Linked DNA regions of Homo sapiens: region 1 is linked to region 2. Evidence: promoter capture Hi-C in 16 types of primary human blood cells and fetal thymus (Javierre and others, 2016). All regions are on one chromosome and are shown on one strand. Each heading gives the region's core, a stretch centred on a gene start or on the middle of the fragment in contact. The rest is flanking DNA. Distances are from core to core; before and after follow the strand shown. Region 1 overlaps TMC7 (transmembrane channel like 7). Region 2 holds the start of TMC7 (transmembrane channel like 7).

Evidence for each region. The method cuts DNA at HindIII sites, captures the fragments that hold promoters and counts their contacts. A CHiCAGO score of 5 or more calls a contact.
Region 1: a contact is called between a fragment that was not itself captured here and the fragment with the promoter of TMC7 in region 2, in 1 of 17 cell types (endothelial precursors). The highest score is 5.1, in endothelial precursors.

Annotation. Positions count from the first base shown.
Region 1 is chr16:19,061,042-19,065,094 of GRCh38, forward strand. It overlaps TMC7 (transmembrane channel like 7), which reads left to right. Exons shown (of 16, transcript NM_024847.4): 16 at 737-2,901. The coding sequence ends at 802. COQ7-DT (COQ7 divergent transcript) reads right to left here. Exons shown (of 3, transcript NR_119381.1): 2 at 2,764-2,998; 3 at 1,713-1,854. Among named protein-coding and RNA genes, the nearest start is that of COQ7, 4.5 kb to the right of the region's middle. The HindIII fragment of the contact is 589 bases long and covers 1,069-1,657 here.
Region 2 is chr16:18,982,126-18,986,138 of GRCh38, forward strand. TMC7 (transmembrane channel like 7) reads left to right here and starts at 1,809. Exons shown (of 16, transcript NM_024847.4): 1 at 1,809-2,005. The coding sequence starts at 1,939. RefSeq lists a silencer at 1,720-1,779. The HindIII fragment of the contact is 29,016 bases long and covers 1-4,013 here.

The sequences.
Region 1 (4,053 bases), core at 113-2,612, 78 kb after region 2:
CGCCCAGGCTGGAGTGCAGTGGTGTGATCTCAGTTCACTGCAACCTCCACCTCCTGGGTTCAAGCAATTCTCCTGCCTCAGCATCCCAAGTAGATGGGATTACAGGCACCTGCCACCACGCCCGGCTAATTTTTTGTATTTTTAGTAGAGACGGGGTTTCGGGGTTTCACCTTGTTGGCCAGGCTGGTCTCGAACTCCTGACCTCAGGTGGTCCACCTGCCTCGGCCTCCCAAAGTGCTGAGATTACAGGCGTGAGCCACCTCGCCTGGCCTAATTTTTGTATTTTTAGTAGAGGTGGGGTTTCACCACGTTGGTCAGGCTGGTCTGAAACTTCTGACCTCAGGTGATCCACCTGCCTTGGCCTCCCAAAGTGCTGGGATTACAGGTGTGAGCCACCTCACCCGGCCTAATTTTTGTATTTTTAGTAGAGATGGGGTTTTACTATATTGGTCAGGCTGGTCTCAAACTTCTGACCTCAGGTGATCCACCTGCCTCGGCCTCCCAAAGTGCTGGGATTACAGGCATGAGCCACCGTGTCCAGCTGTACTGTGCATTTTTTAAAAAAAGGATCGGCTGCTTTGTGGACAAGGGGCTGTGGAGCAGACACAATGACAGACCAGATGAGAGGCCATTACAATAGTCCAGTGGTTAGAATCCTCAGCCCTCAGTCTGGTAGGTAATGATGGTATTTGTTTCCAAATATATTAAATGTACATGTGAACTTATTATTTTTTAGGAAAGTCGTGACAAGTGCTACCTAATCCAGAAACTAACAGAAGCCCAAAGGGACATGAGGAACTAACTAGACTGAGCGTGAAGATGGTGCTGCCTGTTGCTTCTAAGCTGACCTAGTGATTCTGCTGAGCCTACAGAGTCTACCTGGGTTTTGAGTGGACATTTAAAAATATATTTTTCTTGAGTTTAGGCTTTTCCATATGTGCAGCTGTGTTTACCTAACCCAGCCCTTAATTAGGGCTTCAGTGACTTAGAAAAGCAGGGGAAACCCAAGGCTTTGCCTGCAGACCGGCCACTCTGTGACAACTCTACCAAAAACCAACAAGCCATTCAAGCTTTTACAAGAATGAAAGAGCGGAGACGGTAGTTTAGTATTTGAGCCACGAGTTTATGTGCACAAGTGTTTTGGGTTGTGGACTGAAGCTCAGCCTGTTAATCAGACCAGCCCATGAGTGTATAACAAACAGAATTGGAGGCTGGTTTCTTAAACACACACGTCCACATTTTTTAGGGTTGTTTTCCTGTGCTTACAATTTTTAATGCATGTGCCTTTATTTCACAAAACATGTGGCTGGGCGCAGCGGCTCACGCCTGTTATCCCAACACTTTGGGAGGCCGAGGCAGGCGGAGCACCTAAGTTGGGGAGTTCAAGACCAGCCTGACCAACGTGGAGAAACTCCGTCTCCACTAAAATACAAAATTAGCTGGGTGTGGTGGCACATGCCTGTAATATCAGCTACTCAGGAGGCTGAGGCAGGAGAATTGCTTGAACCCAGGAGGTGGAGTTTGCAGTGAGCTGAGATCACACCATTGCACTCCAGCCTGGGCAAAAAGAGCAAAACTCTCCCTAAAAAAAAAATGTAGAATATCTCTTAAGATTTCCGTTATGGTAAAAACCATATGCAATAAATACCTCATTGTAAGCTTACCCAAAATTGATAGATGTCAACCTTTTAACAGAAGAACAGAAGTTTAAGTTATTGTTTAATGTAATCAGTTTTCATTTTAATATCTTTGAAATCTTTTTCAAAGGACTGTAGTTTTGTAATGGACTTTTCAAGCCTTCCTTCCATTGTTTTTCTTCCGTTCACTGGCTCCACACGTTTCCTGGGGAGTAGCCTGGAATTTAAAGTTGGGTGCAGGTTTTAGAAAGCTGTTGCTGTTAACAATAATTCTCCCGGCCATCTCCACTCCACTACTCAAAAATGCCTGAATCCTTGCTCAGAGGAGCAAAGGTATCTTCTCGTCCCTTTCTTACAGCCATTTTCTTGCTTTTCCACAAAGATATTATTTAAAGTGGAATATTTTTGTAACTGGGATACCAATGAGCTTTTCGGTCTTTTCCTGACTTGGTAAGGTTTATGGGTTTCTAAATCTAATAACTACAGTCATACCACCCTGAAAATGCCTGATCTCGTCTAAATCTAATAACTGGTGTCATGGAATTTTGAGTAACCAAAGATTCATTCCAGTCTCACTTAAAAAAATAAATTCTGCTGGGCACAGTGGCTCATGCCTGCAATCCCAGAACTTTGGGAGTCCAAGGAGGGCAGATCACCTGAAGTCAGAAGTTTGAGACCAGCCTGGTCAATGTGGCAAGACCCCGTCTCTACTAAAAGTACAAAAATTAGCCAGGCATGGTGGCGTGTGCCTGTAATCCCAGCTACTTGGGAGGCTGAGGCATGAGAATCACTTGAACCTGGGAGGTGAAGGCTGCAGTGTGCGAGACCGTGCCACTGTACTCCAGCCTAGGTGACAGAGGGAGACCCTATCTCAAAAAAAAAGATAGGTGAAAAGAAAAAAAAAGTTGTAATTGTAAACATTTCTGCCCAGTGCCTTTATATTTATATAACATTTTCACTGTGACCAGACTTGATGATATTCAAGTTTTCTATTTGTGTGTGTGTGTGTGTGTGTGTGTGATGAACACAACGAAAACGTACTGCGTTTTTTTTCCTATTATAAAAGTGATACTGAAATATGCTAATTAATATATTAATTTTAGTTAAATGCTGCTAATATGCATACCTCTTACTTGAAGGTTTTTAATATGTTTTGATAACTTTAATAACTTCAGGTGATGTCTGTATAACTTTTAAAGTGCAGCTCTCTCTAACAAATGTGCCTTACAACTCCTGATTAAACGGCGTCTTGAAGGTTTTAAAATGTGATCGTGTATACTGGAATTCAAAGAGGCTTCTTGTCAGCAGTCAAGTGATGATGGAAAACTGTAATAGTTTGTAAAGTTCCTCTTTGCTTTTTCCTAAAATGAGAGAAAAGAAAGAAGTGTTTAATGTAGTCCTCAGATGAGTGCTTTTAAAGCTCCTTGGCTCTGTTGAAGCCAAGGAGGGTGTATGTGTGTAACTGCCCAACTGGTTCATTTTGCCCGCTGCCTGGATACAGCCCATTCATCAAGACAGAGGAATTGCAGCAGAGGAATTGCAACAGAGAAAGCGTTTGATACATGCAGAGCTGGCTAAACAGGAGACCAGAATATTATTATTACTCAAATCAGTCTCCCTGAAATTTTGGAAACTGGGTTTTCCTGTGTATGTATTTTCTCTCTCTCTCTCTGTGTGTGTGTGTGTGTGTGTGTGTTTGAGACGAAGTCTTGCTCTTGTTGCCTAGGCTGGAGTGCAGTGGGGTGATACTGGCTCACTGCAACCTACACCTCCCAGGTTCAAGCGATTTTCCTGCCTCGGGCTCCCGAGTAGCTGGGATTACAGGTATGCGCCACTACACCCAGCTAATTTTGTATTTTTAGTAGAGACGGGGTTTCTCCATGTTGGTCAGGCTGGTCTCAAACTCCCGACCTCAGGTGGTCTGCCTGCCTCGGCCTCCCAAAGTGCTGGGATTACAGGCGTGAGCCACCGTGCCCGGCCGTGTTTTTTTTTTTTTTTTTTTTTTAATATGTAGTCTCTATTGCCCAGGCTGGAGTGCAGTAGTGCGATCTCGGCTCACTGCAAGCTCTGCCTCCCGGGTTCACCATTCTCCTGCCTCAGCCTCCCGAGTAGCTGGGACTACAGGCGCCCACCACCACACCCGGCTAATTTTTTGTATTTTTAATAGAGACAGGGTTTCATCAGGATGGTCTTGATCTCCTGACCTCATGATCTGCCCGCCTCGGCCTCCCAAAGTGCTGGGATTACAGGCGTGAGCCACTGTGCCTGGCTGTGTTTTTTTTTTTTTTTTTTTTTGAGATGTAGTCTCACTCTATTGCCCAGGCTGGAGTGCAGTAGTGCGATCTCGGCTCACTGCAACCTGGGTTCAAGTGATTCTCCTGCCTCAGCCTCCCAAGTAGCTGGGACTACAGGTGTG
Region 2 (4,013 bases), core at 559-3,058:
TCGAACTCCTGACCTTGCGATCCACCTGCCTTGGCCTCCCAAAGTGCTGGGATTACAGGCATGAGCCACCACACCCAGTCTCCAGCCTCCTTTTTTTTTTTTTTTAAATGACCTTGACAGTTTTGAGGAATACTAATCAGGTATTCTGTAGAATGCCCCTCAGTTGAATTTGTCTGATATTTTTCTTATGACCACAGAGGTAAAGTGCCCTTCTCATCCCATCGTAGGAAGGGTGCACACCATCCTCATGGCTTAATGTTGATGTTAACTTATTTACTTATTTACTTTTTTTTTTTGAGATGGAGTCTTACTCTGTTGCCCAGGCTGGAGTGCAGTAGTGCAATCTCGACTCACTGCAACCTCCGCCTCCTGGGTTCAAGAGATTCTCCTGCCTCAGCCTCCCTAGTAGCTGGGATTACAGGCGCCCGCCACCATGCCCAGCTAATTTTTTTGTATTTTTGGTAGAGACAGGGTTTCGCCATGTTGGCCAGGCTGGTCTCGAACTCCTGACCTCAAGTGATCCACCTGCCTCGGCCTCCCAAAGTGCTGGGATTACAGGTGTGAGCCACTGATCCCGGATGATGTTAACTTTGATCATCTGTCTGAGACAGTGTTTGTCAGGTATTATCTAATATAAAACCCACCCTCACCCTCTTCCACCACCACTTCCATACTGCACTCTTTTGGAAGGATGTCGCTATGGGCAACTCACACTTAAGGAGTAGGGAGCTAAGCTCCCCATCCTTAAAGTATCTACGTAAATGATTTCAAAATCTGCACAGGAGATTTCTCTCCATTTTCCCCATTTATTTATATTTAGCAATTACTTTTCTTTTTCTTTTTTTTTCTGAGATGGAGTCTCCTTCTGTCGCCCAGGCTGGAGTGCAGTGGCGTGATCTCGGCTCACTGCAACCTCTGCCTCCTGGGTTCCAGCGATTCTCCTGCCTCAGCCTCCCTGGTAGCTGGGACTACAGGCATGCACTACCATGCCAGGCTAATTTTGTATTTTTAGTAGAGACAGGGTTTCACCGTGTTGGCCAGGATAGTCTCGAACTCCTGACCTCAGGTGATCCTCCCGCCTCGGCCTCTCAAAGTGGTGAGATTACAGGTGTGAGCCACTGCGCCTGGCAATTTTATGTTTTTAACCTGCACACGAACAGAGGTAGAGATGAAACGAGGATATAGTGCAAAACGTAAAAGACAAACACTGCACGTGGTTTTCTCTTCACTCGGCCCTCTAGCTCCCCACCCAGAGCTACCACAGGTAGCCAGTTTTTTGCACCCTCTAGGGAGATAGCTTAGGCATTTACAAGCATGTACAAATATATTTTTTGGTTTCCTTTTTGTTCCCAAATGGTAACTTACTAGATGCACTGATTTGGAGTCTTGGGGTTTTTTGCGTGTGGACTTTTTATTTTTTAATTTTAAAGATGGGGGTCTCACTGTGTTGGCCAGGTTGGTCTCAAACTTGTGAGTTCGTGCGGTCCTCCAGCCTCGGACTCCCAAAATGCGAGGATTACAGACGTGAGCCACCACTCCCAACCAGTTATTTTTGTTATTTATTTCTTTATTAGATCAGGTTTGATTTTAGATGCAGGGGGTCCATGTGCATGTTTGTTACATGGGTGTACCGGGTCCTGGTGGAGACTGGGCTCCCAGTGCGCCCAATCTATTGTTATTTTTTAAGCTCAGTGAGACATCAGGGAGGTCGCTGCTTGTCGCCACCGCTGGATGGAGCCTTGCCGGATCTCCCGGGCTCTGCAGCCCCTCTGCGGTCCCTGATGCTCGGCTCCTCGCGGGGGCGCCCCACTCCGGCTTCTGTGATGTCAGCGCCGGAACCTGGAATCCCGGCTCCGCGAGGGAAGGCCGGGGAGGCGGCGGCGGCGGCGGCGGCTGGAGAGGGTCCTCGGCAGCCTCTGAGGAGCGCGGGGCGCGGCCATGAGCGAGTCCAGCGGCAGTGCGCTCCAGCCCGGCAGGCCCAGCCGGCAGCCGGCGGTCCATCCAGGTAGGGCGGCAGGGAGCGCGCGCGGGGACGGTGCCCCTGGGGTCCGAGGGCGCACGGAGGGAGCCGGGTGCTGGAGGCTCGGCCTGGCCGCTGTTCCCTCCCACCCCCGACGCCGGGTGCTCCCGGCTCTGGGGAACAGCAGGTGGGAAGGAGATCTTCCTTATTCCTGCTCCCTCCACAAACGCGTCCTCATCCAATCCAGTGGAACCCAGCCGGGCCAAAAGGACACGAGAACTGCAGTCTGGACCGTGGTGGGTTTGTCTTCCAGCTGTTGACCGAGACAGTCTTTCAATAGCCTCATCTGCTGTTAAATGAAAGGATTTGAGCACCCCCTCCACGCCTAACATTCTGGTATGAGGTGCCTGCCTCCCGGACATTTCAGCCTTCACATACAGTTAGACCAACTTGAAACCGAATTCTGCCTTGTCTGTTTATTGCTGTGGGACCTTTGGTAAGTGGCTTGCCTTCTCTGAGCCTCAGATCCTTCAGCAGTAAAATGGGAATAGAATGGGGCGGGGATTAGCTGAGAATCGTGTGATGTGTCTAGCACAGTGCCTGGCATTGTGGCTAGACAGTCACAATAAATGGTAGCCAGCCAAGTATTATAATCTTTTGTATCGGGTAGAATTACAGTAAAGTATACAGCTCCATGAATTTCTACAGAAATATGTACAACGGCTGCCCAGTCAGGATAAAAAAGTTGCCAGCACTCAGGCAGGGTTCCTTGTAGCATTTGGAGCTTACGAATCTTGTCCTGAACAAAACACAAGACCCTGCTGTAAAGTTTTATCTGCAATGTTTTCTCTTTTTCAGTTTTAGAATAGAGATTTACTGAAACCAAGGATGTAGGGCCGGGCGTGGTGGCTCACGCCTGTAATCCCAGCACTTTGGGAGGCTGAGGCGGGTGGATCACGAGGTCAGGAGTTCAAGACCAGCCTGGCCAAGATGGTGAAACCCCATCTCTACTGAAGATACAAAAATTAGCCAGGAGTGGTGGTGGGTGCTTGTAATCCCAGCTACTTGGGAGGCTGAGGCAGAGAATAGCTTGAACCCGGGAGGCGGAGGTTGCAGTGAGCCGAGATTGCGCCACTGCACTCCAGCCTGGGCGACAGACCAAGACTGTTTCAAAAAAAAAAAAAGAAACCAAGGATATAGAATAAAACATGAGTGTAGATTTGGTCATTGAGGCCTTCAAATTGGATTGTTCCCAATGTCCAGAAGAAAAAAAAAATTTAGAAGAGACCCAAATCAGAAAACAAAAGTTGGGGTGGATTCAATGCGAATTATTTTCTAGCTCAATATTAATACTGCTTATGTCAGCTGAATTTCAGCCTTTCAATAACAGCTAGTCAAGTATTTTTTTAGTTGGTTCCTATTAATAGTCATCTTATTTTAGTGGAATCCATTATATTGAAGATGTCAAGTTCCTCATTTCCCATACAAAGAATGTGAGATTCATCTTTCTTGCATCTTTGCTAAGTGTATGAGGGGACTTTTGGCATCTTTTCAGGAGGACTATAATTGGGCCCTCTAACTAAAAAGTCTTCTATGCCCCTTAGATAGATGAGTTTTTTTTTTTTTTTTTTGATCTTGTACCCACCAACATTGGTGGGAGGCTCAGAAGGGACTGTGTTTGTAACTTTGTAGCACTTTCTAAACAGTGACCTGTTGTATGGGCATTATAGGACAGTCCGTGGGGTGGGGCGGGGGATGGGGGAGGCGACAAATGAGGTCTGGTTTAAAGAATGAGAAGTGTGACCAGGCATGGTGACTCATGCCTGTAATCCAGCACTTTGGGATGCTGAGGCAGGAGGATCACTTGAGCCCAGGAGTTTGAGGTTACAGTAAGCTATGATTATGACACTGGGCTCCAGCCTGGGTGACAGAACTAGACCCTGTCTCTAAAAAAAAAAGAAGAGGTATGTATCCTTCTAAATGATAAAACAGATCACTCCCCTGCTTACATAAAACTTTCCGGTGGCTGGCCAGGCACAGTGGCTCACACCTG